Regions from separate parts of the Homo sapiens genome. Here all the other regions are linked to region 2. Evidence: promoter capture Hi-C in 16 types of primary human blood cells and fetal thymus (Javierre and others, 2016). All regions are on one chromosome and are shown on one strand. Each heading gives the region's core, a stretch centred on a gene start or on the middle of the fragment in contact. The rest is flanking DNA. Distances are from core to core; before and after follow the strand shown.

Evidence for each region. The method cuts DNA at HindIII sites, captures the fragments that hold promoters and counts their contacts. A CHiCAGO score of 5 or more calls a contact.
Region 1: the fragment with the promoter of PRH2 here is called in contact with the fragment with the promoter of TAS2R46 in region 2 in 2 of 17 cell types (activated CD4 T cells and non-activated CD4 T cells); the score reaches 5.8 in activated CD4 T cells.
Region 3: the fragment with the promoter of TAS2R9 here is called in contact with the fragment with the promoter of TAS2R46 in region 2 in 4 of 17 cell types (total CD4 T cells, naive CD8 T cells, naive B cells and 1 more); the score reaches 7.2 in total CD4 T cells.

Annotation. Positions count from the first base shown.
Region 1 is chr12:10,926,538-10,930,873 of GRCh38, reverse strand. It overlaps PRH2 (proline rich protein HaeIII subfamily 2), which reads right to left and starts at 1,638. Exons shown (of 4, transcript NM_001110213.1): 1 at 1,537-1,638; 2 at 570-605; 3 at 1-212. The coding sequence starts at 1,600. All of the region lies in intron 4 of PRH1-PRR4 (PRH1-PRR4 readthrough), which reads left to right. It also overlaps a transcript of PRH1 not described here. The HindIII fragment of the contact is 3,246 bases long and covers 957-4,202 here.
Region 2 is chr12:11,059,339-11,063,903 of GRCh38, reverse strand. It overlaps TAS2R46 (taste 2 receptor member 46), which reads left to right and starts at 1,610. Exons shown (of 1, transcript NM_176887.2): 1 at 1,610-2,539. The coding sequence starts at 1,610. The coding sequence ends at 2,539. The region is part of intron 1 of PRH1-TAS2R14 (PRH1-TAS2R14 readthrough); the gene reads left to right. The region is part of intron 1 of PRH1-PRR4 (PRH1-PRR4 readthrough); the gene reads left to right. It also overlaps a transcript of PRH1 not described here. The HindIII fragment of the contact is 4,910 bases long and covers 1-2,290 here.
Region 3 is chr12:10,808,134-10,813,117 of GRCh38, reverse strand. TAS2R9 (taste 2 receptor member 9) reads left to right here and starts at 2,950. Exons shown (of 1, transcript NM_023917.2): 1 at 2,950-4,024. The coding sequence starts at 3,043. The coding sequence ends at 3,981. The HindIII fragment of the contact is 1,377 bases long and covers 2,542-3,918 here.

The sequences.
Region 1 (4,336 bases), core at 389-2,888, 130 kb after region 2:
AGGAGGAGGGGGATGGCCTCCCTGTTGGGGTGGTCCTTGTGGCTTTCCCTGAGGAGGTGGTGGACCTTGTTGCTGCTGGCCTCCTTGTTGGGGTGGTCCCTGCTGAGGGCCATCATTCTGGTTCCCATCACCAGCAGAGGGTTGAGATTGCTGTCCTCCCAAAGGTGGTCCCTGACGCTCCTCATCTATGAACTGCTCAGAGTCTCCTCCATCTGTGTGAGTTGAAACAAGAAGAGCTGAGCTCATGCTGGAAAACCCTCCTGTCTTCATATCTCTCTGTCTTCACCACACGGCCGGCCCCTCTCTCCCTGACCTGCCTCTCAACTCCCAACCTCCCCCCTTCCCAAGGCTTCCTAATTAGAACTCCTCTTAATCCACATTAGGGTGGTGAAAAATCAAATTTCTTTACTCATGGTCCCCAGAATCAAGGTTGGGAGAAAACTGTTTATATCTCTGGGGCACTGATATTAGCCAATTCCTGACAAGGATGATAAGAAGACACTGGAGAACTGATCAATTTTTCAGGGAAAAATGGAGACAGAGTTTACTGAGAATTTATTGGGATTTACCTGATATTACCAAGGGAACGTCTTCTTGGCTGACATCTAGAAAAGAAGTACAGGATGATGGGAAAAGTTACTGCATGAATCATTCAGAGCTCATAGTGTTCTACGAGGATAAAGGACCTCTGATCACACCCTGTGCATCCCCTTTGAGATCTCATCAGCCACTCTCTGATGCTACCGGAAGTGGAAGAAGATGTAAGGGAAAGCAGGATTGTTACTACACTGAGCGTCAACCAGGAACTCAACATAGAAGGGCCCCTGTTTGTCCTCTCATGATTCCTTAAGCCTTAGTGCTTATTTAGTTAAAGGGCTCTTGAGTATTTCAATGAAATATTTGGGGATCCTTCTGCCCTCTTTCATCTGTAAATATGTTGTTTATGTTTGCAAGCTTTCTCAACAGGAGCCACCAGACATAGCCACTTAGATACAATCTTACAAATGCCCGTCCCAGCACATTAAAATACTACATGCAGGAGAGAAAAAAATGACAATATTTCACTCTGGTGATTCTCTAACTCTATGTAGACAGAGGCAAGTGTTTACCCAATTCTCTGCCTCAGCAATAGCTCTGACATGTGTTTATCTCCTTCATGGATACTCATCCACTGTCCAGCAAGGCCACCATCATCCCTGTCTACTGGGATCAGTATAGGATCTTCACAGCTGCACTTCCCTGAATCTGTCTTGCATTCTCCATATCCTTCCCAGCAGTCCCATGTCTCTATAAATGCAAATCTCACTCTCTCACTCCCCCGGTACAAATTCTTTATTGGGTTCTATTTGTGCAATCAATAAATTATGAGGTCTTGATGAGGAATGAAGGCACAACAGGTCTTCTGATCCTTGGCATGAGAACTCTTCAGTCCTATCTGTTTTCTCATCCTCCTCTCTTCCCTCCACTTTCCCCCTCTATAGCATTCGCCCGTAAACCCCAATCAGAGTCACAATATCTTCCCCCAATTCGGCTTACCTTCATCTAAGTCCTGAGCTGAGCTGAAGGCCAGCAGGGCCACTGACAGCAGAATCAGAAGCATCTTGCAGAAGGCTCTGGTGTCACTCCCAACTTTATGCTGGGAGAAACGTGTCAGCTCCCTTTATAAAGACAAGCAGGACAATGGCGCATTTGAGCTCCCTACCAGGTGGGCCTCCTCGCCTCAGAGACTGGGTTCTGCTTTGCTTACTTCAGGTCAAGTGTATCCCTCATTTCTTCTGGGACTCTAGCCTAGCAGGAAGGGTTGGGGAGGATGTTGTTTGTGGCTAATTTCTAAAAGGTACAACTATGACTTGGACAAATGTTTTGACGGAACTGTGTCCAAGCAATCAGCACAGTGTCAGGATTGAACTTTAGACATCATTTGTTTTTCAATCTGTTTGGAAAGACTGCTATTCTGCTTTCCACTGTGCTTTTCATTTGTGTGTATGTGAGTTTGTGTGGGTGTGTCAGGGGGTTGGGCAGCAATCCTACAGCTAACAGTGAAGACGGTCAATATGTCTGACTCTTTTGATAGCCTATTTCCATCTCTCATGATGTGTGTGCATGGATATTTGTATATTTAGCTAAATTTTTCATGTAATAGAGATGCTTTCTGCTTATCCGTGAGTTGTGTGAGGACAGCACACTGCTGGGTACACATAGATGACAGAAGGCTGCCCCGCAGCCTCCTCATGCTACAGGAAATTTCCAAACTCTGTGAATCTCACTACACTCAGGCAAGCGTTGGTGCTGTACAATACAGGAAAGCTAAAAAATTTGTATTTTAAAAAATATCTTTAGGGATTATTAAAGCAAAACTGAACACAGAAACCACCAAGGAATTTCTAGACCTAAACAAACTGAAACATGGTTCCCAAAGTGAGCCACACGATGTCATGTAGCTAAGACCTCCACTTTCTCCAGAATATTCTATAGAATTCATCATCTACTTTATTTCTTCTAACAAATACCGTAGTCTTCACCACTAATAACTAAGTGGCCATACTTATATATTCAACTTGATGATTTGTAATGCCTGTTCAAGCCTCAAATGCCTTGATTGGTCTTCTGTTTTTTACTCAGTATTTATGTCACCAGTTTCATCAGAGTTTTCTTTCACAAAGATGATTTTTTCTATGATATTCTAATACTAATTCTTTCTCATTCTCTTTCTTACATTCATTTGTTGATATTTTATATGCTGAGACTACCTTGTCGTTTGTAATTTTCTTCCTATATAGTTTTTTTCTCCCCACATGACTTGTGGGAGATGACATTTATTTAATCTTCTAAGCAATGGTGTATGGTACTCCTCACTATCTTTATTTTCATTTTTGTCTCTACAATTGGACAATAAACTATTAAGTTTCTGAAAAATCCTTCCAGGGTCCTGGATTGGTACTCCTCTTCTCAGCTGCTGATTGCTCTGTGATACCTAGAAATTCCCTGTTCCTCAATTCATAAAATATACTACTCGGTATCACCAGCTGCACTTTCCATTTCAGACCTTGTGTAGGCCTTGTGTAATTTTTCACTTTTTGTGCACGGCTAGTGTTTATTTGAGGATAGCTTGGTTGGAGGCATGGCTGAGAGGCCATGTGACAGAAAATCATAAAGACAAGGCCCTAGACAGATGTGCATGGGTGGATCCTGTACTGTGCATACGAGGGTCTGGTCTGGCCCTTCTGAAGAGTTGCAGATAACAAAACAAGAAGGCTTCCTAATAGATTAGATTTTTCTACAGACAACAATGTTCTCATAAGGGACCCAGGCAGACTGATATTTTCCCTGAAATAAATATAGACATATTTGAAGTGGGAATGCATTCTTAATTGGCAATTCTTCTCTGGCCCTGTGGAAACTGGATCAGTTTTAGCTGGGCTTGATGGGTTGTATCTTAGGCACAGGGTAGGTGCTTAAGCCAAGCAGCTCCCAGTGGGTTACTGGGATTATTTTCTTTGGTTTCACCAGATACTGTTTTCCATTAGACCTGGAGATGAGCAGTCCTGCCTTGGTGATTTCAGGTCAACCATCATGTCAAAAAGGAAGGCCAGAGAAAGGGAACAAAGAGGGGTGCCAGACAGATATTGCCTGATGATGTGGGTAACGGAGAAAGCTGCAAGCCTGGTGAAAGACAGATTTCTCCTTGGCAGCAGAGTACAGGAAAAGAACAGGAAATGCTCCTAAAGGTCGCTCAGCTCAGGTCCCTTCCATGACCTTCTCCAATGTCAACAATCAGCAAAAGAGACTAGCATATCAAGAAAGTATAAATACCAGCTATGCTCTCACCAGCCAAATCAAAAGAAGGGGTGATGGAAGAGCTGAAAGGGACACTGTCTGGGAGTGAGTGTGGGTGAAAGGGAGAAGTAGGACTGCTGCAGGAGCTTGGGCACCTAGAGTGGGTGGCAGCCGTCAACAACACAATTCCCTTCTACTATGGATGTTCACATTCTGAGGTCCTGAAGCATCAGTCTTCAACATATGAAATTTTAGGATTCATCTTTCATAACACATCCCAACTTTTTCTCTGTTACTCACAGGTGTTTACCTAGTGGTTCAAAAATCCTCACTCCCTCCAGGCACTACCCATTAGCTTATCTAATTTCTTCCACCTTCAAAATACATCTCAAATGTGTCCACTTGCATGATCTTTACTAGAAGCTTGTTGTTCGGCCCACAATGCTCTCTCCTGGAGGTCTTTAACAGCCTCGACCTGGTCCTGGTAACATTCTTCCCCCAGTACATCCCATATCAGTTCCCTCACGACAATCAGAGTGATCATTTAAAAGTAGAAATT
Region 2 (4,565 bases), core at 361-2,860:
GCAATAATAAACTATTTGTATACATTGTTATACAACTCTAAGGGAGTTGAAGTGAGCACTTTCTTATTTAGTTGCAACGTGAGGAAATTTGAGATGATGTTATCCTCCAACCCCAGAACTTTCCAATGGATTTCTTCTAGCCTTAATTATCGACCTCACAAGAACAAACCTTTGCAATTTCCCATCTGTTTTTGCTTTTGGCTCCTGAATTCCTGACACAACAAGGTTGTACATATTTCCCACACTCTTGGTTTAGCAGAGTTGATTTATCAGTTATGTTTTTCTGCAAGAGAAAAACCCTCCAAACTACATTAGATGTTTATATCTCACATGTTGTTGGATTTCATTTTTTTTAAGCTGGGTTTGGTGGATGGCTCTGTTTATTTGAAATGGACCAAATTCTGAATCTTGGTAGTAGTTAGAGTTTGGCCAATTTGGTCTGGATCAGGTGGGGGCAATCTGACTTCATTAGTTTCTCACTCTCCTTCTGGGAACAGTGTACTAGCCAGGTGATATTCTCATGGTAAATGGAAAGAGGAAGAATCCCCATTATGGAAGCCATCTGAAATCTCTATGCAAAGTGTAGTAATTTTCTGTTTATCAAAGCAAGTTAAATGGTTGTACTCCAAGTTCAGGGGCAAGGTAGTCAGCCTTCTCAGTGATGGCAGGATACTGCAAGACTATATATCAAAGGGTTGGGTACTCAGGAATTCTTATACAATTGCTAAATGTTTTGTATAGTAATAAATATTTAAACATTAGTCTTGAGAGAAACTTTACCAAAGGCCTAAGAATTAGAGATATGTTTGATAAATAAATATTATTCATGAGCTGAAAGCCCTGAGTGGGAAAATAGGACTAACTTCACCTAGACAACCTCCTGGAAACTCCTTTTTTTATTTTGGAACTGATGAGAAAATAATTTGTTCCATTCGTGAGTGGTGTGCACATGTGTGTGTTTGTGTGTGTATTTATGAGCTTGTGAATAATGAAGTTATACAAACGTATTAGCAGCAACCAGATTCTGAGGTTCTCCAGAAAATCTTAGATATTTTTGATAAAAGCAGTTTGGATTCTGTGTATTTAAATCTGTCATTTAAAAAAGTCCATATAGGTGATGAACTTAATTATGACCAAGCTCCTTTTAAGAATTTAGACATTTACTATATGATCTCTGTATTGGGTTATAAAACTTCCCTAACAACTGAAGTCACTAAAGACAAATGATGGAGAGGTTACACAAGGAAAAATTGCAAACACTGAAAGTGAATATGTCCTTGTTTGCATACTAGCAAATGAGAATTCAGGTTTCATGTCAACTTCAGTATGAATAATTCCAGCCTATAACAAGGACAGACAGTGAATGAATGGGTTAATTTGAGTTGTTTTGAAAATAAGAATATTTTCCATAAAGAGAGCGTTGAACTTACCCATTAGCATGCCATGGTGATTTCTGGCTTGACACTGGTCACAGCAATTAAAAGTAAAAAGAATGTCACAGCACATACACAAATCAGGTGCATATAGAATTTAAGGTCAGGATATTCAAGCAATCACAACCAGTGATATTACACCAGCATTTTAAAAATTTCTTTTTGTCTGTTCAGACATGATAACTTTTCTGCCCATCATTTTTTCCATTCTAATAGTGGTTACATTTGTGATTGGAAATTTTGCTAATGGCTTCATAGCATTGGTAAATTCCATTGAGTGGTTCAAGAGACAAAAGATCTCTTTTGCTGACCAAATTCTCACTGCTCTGGCAGTCTCCAGAGTTGGTTTACTCTGGGTATTAGTATTAAATTGGTATGCAACTGAGTTGAATCCAGCTTTTAACAGTATAGAAGTAAGAATTACTGCTTACAATGTCTGGGCAGTAATCAACCATTTCAGCAACTGGCTTGCTACTAGCCTCAGCATATTTTATTTGCTCAAGATTGCCAATTTCTCCAACCTTATTTTTCTTCACTTAAAGAGGAGAGTTAAGAGTGTTGTTCTGGTGATACTATTGGGGCCTTTGCTATTTTTGGTTTGTCATCTTTTTGTGATAAACATGAATCAGATTATATGGACAAAAGAATATGAAGGAAACATGACTTGGAAGATCAAACTGAGGAGTGCAATGTACCTTTCAAATACAACGGTAACCATCCTAGCAAACTTAGTTCCCTTCACTCTGACCCTGATATCTTTTCTGCTGTTAATCTGTTCTCTGTGTAAACATCTCAAAAAGATGCAGCTCCATGGCAAAGGATCTCAAGATCCCAGCATGAAGGTCCACATAAAAGCTTTGCAAACTGTGACCTCCTTCCTCTTGTTATGTGCCATTTACTTTCTGTCCATAATCATGTCAGTTTGGAGTTTTGAGAGTCTGGAAAACAAACCTGTCTTCATGTTCTGCGAAGCTATTGCATTCAGCTATCCTTCAACCCACCCATTCATCCTGATTTGGGGAAACAAGAAGCTAAAGCAGACTTTTCTTTCAGTTTTGTGGCATGTGAGGTACTGGGTGAAAGGAGAGAAGCCTTCATCTTCATAGATTCACAAGAGCAGCATTGTGTATCTTCTAGCAGAAAACAAACGTGTTATATGAAGCATTTTATATTTCTTACTGTGTTTTCTGTAATGTATGTATATGAATAACTTTCAAGCATGTACCTAGAAAAGTCTTTTACCTAACGTTAGTCTAAAAAAGTGCGTATGTATATATATGTATTTTTGTGTGTATGTTTGTATGAAAAACAAAAGAACATTGACAGTGACATACTCTTTTTTGTTTTTTCACACAAACTGCCAAATTATACAAAATATGACAAAAATTCTTAAGAATTATGAATCCATACCTATTTCATTTATGTATTTTATATTTCATTTGAATAATTTATGATCTATATTTATAATTATTAAGAACTATCAGCTTATCTCAGGAAAGACATTGCTGTTTTCTATTGTTATTTGAACCACACAAATATACCACAGTGTGCTTCGAATTCATTGTTTGAACCTGTAACTTTTTGGATGGTAAGGTCATTCAATTCTAAATCAATAATAAGGATGTGTCTTTGAGGTTTTATTCCATTATGAATTCCTATTTTATGTTTAGTAAAAAGCAATCAGAATTATTGATAGAAAACAATGCACACAATAAAATTTGAGTGACAAGCATATGTAGAGTAAGTTTCAACTATGTCTACCATAAACAGTTCTGAGGAATATTAGATTTAATACAAGCATGTGAATAGCTTAGAAAACAATCTCTTCTATAATAGGGATGAAAAATCATGATTGTGATCTTGATTGCTATTATCAGTTTCCATATGTAGTTAGAAAAGTCATTTCTTCCAGCTTTTGGATTAAAGAAAAGCTTTTTTTTTGAAGTTGAGAGGTGATGTAAACTATTTTAGTATTTTTTTCTAAAGCACTTTTAAGCCCCTGAATTGTTAATTATACCCTTACCTTCCATTTATAAAATTCCTTCTAAACTTCAGGTAACAGAACCCAAATCTTCCTTATTCTAAAAAAAAACTATCAATGTAAAAATAGTATAGAAATTATGGAAAATAAATCAATGAAATTTTTGTAAATGTTAAAATGGCATCTATGAAATCTATGTTTTAATTATAGAATGTGCTTTACAGTTATAATTTTGTTGTCAATGATGAAATGAAAGTGGTTGACATATTCATTAATAGGAAGTTCTATTATGAGATGGAAATGTACAGTCTTGTTCACAGCTAAATTCTACATGACTGTATTAATTTTGGTGTTATGAAATTTTAAAAATGTGATTTAAACCTTAAGATAAATCATCCCCACATGTGATTTATGTGTTTTTTTAAAATCATGTATCTTCCTCAGTACAATGTAAGAACTGTAAAATCAGATCAGAGATGATCTCATCTCTGTCTTGCTTTCTGTTGAATGTAAGATCAGAGAGCAAGATGATCTCATCTCTTTCTTGCTTTCTGTTGACTCCCAGGACCTAGAACCCAGCAACAAGAATAGATGGTCAAAAATGATATTTTAATGAACAAATAAATGGGTGGATAAAATGGGTAAGCTGATGTGGTAAACCAATGAAAGGGAAACTCATCACAAAATCTGCAGTTGCATGAATTCCCCTGTTCTGTTCTCAGGTTAAGGTTACAGGCTTATCCAAGCAGAATCCTTCCGCAGAGGAAAAGTTTGGCTATTCCACAATTTTAGGGGAAATATGACAATAATATAGTCTTGATGCAACTGTATCAGGTGTCTGAATTGGAGACAAGGTAGAACATCAAAATTAGATGGCGCCTATTACAATATTTTTAGAAAGCGTATAAACAACCTTGGTCTATTTGAATATGTATTTTTTTCTATTGTGAATTATATATTTGTATTATGATATTTTCTAGTTGATTATTATTTAAACAAAAATGGCATTTCATTTTAAAAATTGAGTTAGTAACCAGCTACTTTACTAAAATGTTTTTTATGTATTACCTGTTATTAAGGTGATGACATTTATTTAGAAATCAAGTTCAAGACAAAAATGGCAAGGATATGTGGAAATTGAGACAGGAACA
Region 3 (4,984 bases), core at 1,701-4,200, 250 kb after region 2:
TTATTAATCCTTAGCTTAAGTCTAGTATTTCTTCTGTCTTGAATGTAAGTAACAAGCACATACCATACCAGCAGTATCTGTAATTTTTTCACTTCAGGAAGCCAAAAATTTTTGTCGTTACAGGTACCTCCTATTGTCATTTACTTTCACCACTAGTCTTTATCTGCCAGATATTTTTGTTATGTCAATTAAAAAGCACATAAATTCCTATATTATATTAACAATATATTTCATACTGCAAGAAAAAGGCATATATATATGGATTCCTTATACATTTCAAATATTTTTATTTCATGCACTTAAAAACATTATTCTGAAATTATAGCATGCACCAGACTGGCAAAGTAGTCCATTGAACAAAAAAGTTCCAGAACCTCGAGTTCAAATGAAGAAAATAAAGTGAACTGTTAGAGAAACAAATGAGAATATATGGCTTCTGCTAATGGTTTACTAGGGATCCCAATGGATATAGTGAAGAGTTTAGAATGGGGTAGGAGATAAAGTCAGCAACTATTCAAAATATAAGTTGTCAGAAAATAGGACAGTATCGCAGTATCCTGTTCTTGATTTATAAATCTGAAGAGTATAGTCATTTCTCTTGATCAGTAATAATCAGTGGCATAACTCAAGGACAAATGCCTGTAAAAGATGTAAGGTTCTAAAGAATGGTAAAAAGTATTTAAACAAAGGAAAGAAAATGAAATTTAAGAAATATCTGCCTAAGTAGGTTTGTGTTTGCTCACTTCTCATAGAAAGACATACAGGAAATGATGTCATAAGTTTCCCAGTATTTCATCTGTTTTCTAGTAGAGACAGAAATAATCAATAAACTAACATTCTAGATTAAAGTGTTTCTGCAATGAAAATAGATGTTAAAGTCTGTCAGCTAGGATCCCTCTTTAACTTCTCAATGCTAAGATAAAATCCAAAGGGCAAATAACACATAAACTCACACACACACACAATACACACAAAAAAAACATATTCAACGGTGTCAAATAAATTGAGATCATTTGGGTTTTATTTATAGCAAGGAAAGATAAAAGAGGGTGGCATTTTAGTAAGTATAGGCCCTTAGGTAACTCTGGTCATATCCTATAGCATATTTTCGTTTACATTTGAATATAGGCATAACTTTCTTAAATTGATCAGTATTCCACACGGCTAAGGAAAAGAAGTGAGGTAGTGGGAAAGACCATGATTCAGAAGGCAAGCTTGGATTCTATATCTGGATTTACCAGGAATTTTTAATATGTCAGTTATTAATCACCCTCCTACATGATATATTTTCATCTTCATCTTTTCTGGACATTACAAATTGATCCCAGAGTAGTTCCATTTCCAAATAATAACCTTGAACCTACTTTATTCCCCTCCACAAAATTTTATCTTTCAAAAAGTTTAATTAAAATAATGAAATATTGCATTCCCTGAGATGTGAACATGGTGCGACCTTGTCTGTCAGTTGCATGCAAATCAATTTCTTTACTCTAGTGAAGTCCTTCTCAGAATATTACCTGTTTTATGGCTTTGGTCATGACAAGCACAGTGTGTATTTTTGAGTTGTATAATCTGATATTTCTTCAGAAACAAAATTCACAGAGAAGCATGAAAGAAACCCCAAATTTCACTGAATAGAATAACAATAGCTATTTACTTTCTCATAAAAATCTGCAAGATTAATTTTTATCTCTTTATTTTGTCTAAAACCCTGAACATATGACACATTATCTCATTAAATACTTTGTATTGTTGTGTTTGTTTGATAAGCAATATTTAATATTGCCTTAAAATTTAATATTAGTTTCAAAATAATATTTCTGGGAACTGTGTATTGCTGTGTGCCTTTTTCTATTATTTCAAATATGTTCTACTATGCCCAATGACATGTTTCAATATGTCCCAATGAAACAGTGTGTTTCCAATGTGTGTATAATTAGCATACTAATATTTATAATACACCTGCTGCCAAAAAATAGAGCTAAGAAAATTCAGAGCATGTATTCTTATCACTCAGTTCAGACTGAAGAGTCTTGTATATCTATCACGCTTTTTAGTTCCAAAAATATCACTTTCTTGCTCTTTGTCCTCCTCACTGTTCAGGCTGATCTGTTTCCATTCTAAAGATAAGTGACCAGTATTTTGACTATTTTTTCTATGTATGGAAGCTACATTCAGGTACAAAGCAAGAACACTCTAAGAAACCCTAACATCTAAACCAGAATTTTCCGTGTCTCATTTGCTGACAACACTACAATGTCATGTTTATTTCCCTCATTGTATCTTCAGTTGAGAAGACAAACACTGCAGAGCTTTTTGAGGATATTGGGAATTACCTAATTAATGTATTTCTCAATGCCCTAGTGAATGGAGTGTCCTTTTGGCCCTCTTAAGTCATATAATGGGGAGAAGGTGAAGTTCGCATATGATAAATTCACCTTAATACTCCTATCTTCCTACACCTTTAGATTCTTTCCTCTACATTCCACCAGTTATGCCATTTAAGCCTCATTTAATGTTAATAATAATTTGTTTAAAGCTTTAGTCAACCAAGCAAGCAAACTGGCCACACAAGCTAACACAGTAAACCTAGAATCTGTAATAGCAATAACTATGTCAATATACTAACAAGGATGGATAGTCATCCAGCAAATTAAATTCTAGCCATATTTTCCAAGTAATTGATACCTTCTTGAAGTTCCTGGTCAACAGCTCAGATTGATAAATCCAAAATATACAGAGCTTAAAATAAGAAAGAGTGTGCAAATTTAAGAAATCAGATCCATTCCCATTTGCATCCTAGAGGCTTTCAGTCATCACTGCACCAAAGGAAATTACTGGCCCCAATCATTGAAGTCTTTAGGCAGCTCTAGCCCAGAGCAGGACTGGCTATCTTCTTCATCTGCATCACAGCTAACAAAAAGGAGAGATAAAGACAACTATATCATGGTCTAAGAGGCAGACAGATACATTGTTCTTCACTGGTCAGCTGAAAGTCAATTCATCATCAGTGATATTCAAAAATCACAAGTCTTTGCTGGCATGCCAAGTGCAATAGAGGCAATATATATTATTTTAATTGCTGGTGAATTGACCATAGGGATTTGGGGAAATGGATTCATTGTACTAGTTAACTGCATTGACTGGCTCAAAAGAAGAGATATTTCCTTGATTGACATCATCCTGATCAGCTTGGCCATCTCCAGAATCTGTCTGCTGTGTGTAATATCATTAGATGGCTTCTTTATGCTGCTCTTTCCAGGTACATATGGCAATAGCGTGCTAGTAAGCATTGTGAATGTTGTCTGGACATTTGCCAATAATTCAAGTCTCTGGTTTACTTCTTGCCTCAGTATCTTCTATTTACTCAAGATAGCCAATATATCGCACCCATTTTTCTTCTGGCTGAAGCTAAAGATCAACAAGGTCATGCTTGCGATTCTTCTGGGGTCCTTTCTTATCTCTTTAATTATTAGTGTTCCAAAGAATGATGATATGTGGTATCACCTTTTCAAAGTCAGTCATGAAGAAAACATTACTTGGAAATTCAAAGTGAGTAAAATTCCAGGTACTTTCAAACAGTTAACCCTGAACCTGGGGGTGATGGTTCCCTTTATCCTTTGCCTGATCTCATTTTTCTTGTTACTTTTCTCCCTAGTTAGACACACCAAGCAGATTCGACTGCATGCTACAGGGTTCAGAGACCCCAGTACAGAGGCCCACATGAGGGCCATAAAGGCAGTGATCATCTTTCTGCTCCTCCTCATCGTGTACTACCCAGTCTTTCTTGTTATGACCTCTAGCGCTCTGATTCCTCAGGGAAAATTAGTGTTGATGATTGGTGACATAGTAACTGTCATTTTCCCATCAAGCCATTCATTCATTCTAATTATGGGAAATAGCAAGTTGAGGGAAGCTTTTCTGAAGATGTTAAGATTTGTGAAGTGTTTCCTTAGAAGAAGAAAGCCTTTTGTTCCATAGAGACCCCTAAAGAGTATCCTGACTACAAGGATGAAAGAAATCAACAAAAGGCATTCTCCCTTCTCTTGTTTGCATTCATTTTCTCTTATATGCTATTGGAAGTCATTAATATCTGTCATGATTCTGAAGATTTGTTTTGTGTTCCTTCACACTTTTGTCTTGTTTAATGGATAATCTAATGTTATCATTGCACCGTATATTCTTTGTCGTTGCAGAAAAAAAAAATGCATCTAAATCCCACACTAACATTTCATCATTTTATGTCATTGACTAAATACAAAGAGGTTCTACTTCTTTTCTGACAAATACTGGCAAAGGCCTTGAACTCAATGAGTAGAAGAATGTCAGGCAAACAGGCTTTGGGGAAAAGATTTTAGAACTCATCAACCCTTGCTATAAAATCAATCATGCAAAACAACTCTCTACTTTGAAATGAAGGCCGGTCCTTATCTTCACCGCCCTTTCCTCTCCATTTCTGGAAGGGTTTGTCTTGATCAAGAAGGGAGAAAAACAATCTTTAATGAGATTCTATCTAAGATGATATATGATGTGGGAAAAGGAGTATAATCTCAAGAATGAAAGTTTGACAGAGAGAGGAGGCACAGTTATGTATAGCAGAACCACCTTGAGAAAGAAGGTTGAGGGTCCCAGTAGTCAGCGTGTTCATGAGTACTCTAGCTGGTGATGGCAATTTTAGAAGTCATTTCCCAAAGATTCCCTGGAATGTTCTCTCTAGCCTTCTAACTCAGAAATCTCTGACATATTTTTTTCCCTCTGCATCATTTTCTTTTCTATTTTGTTTCCAGCAGTAGTTTATAGATAACTAGGTTTCTTTAAGTTATTAAGTTTATGCTTTCCTGTTACACATTACACACATGTAAGAAATAGAAAAAATCCTGCATGTGTTGTATACATTGTAGAACTATTTAAATACAAGAAGCCCTAGGGTATTGTGATTTGTATTACCTACATTCAAATGTATTTTGGGCTAAGTTGTACTTTC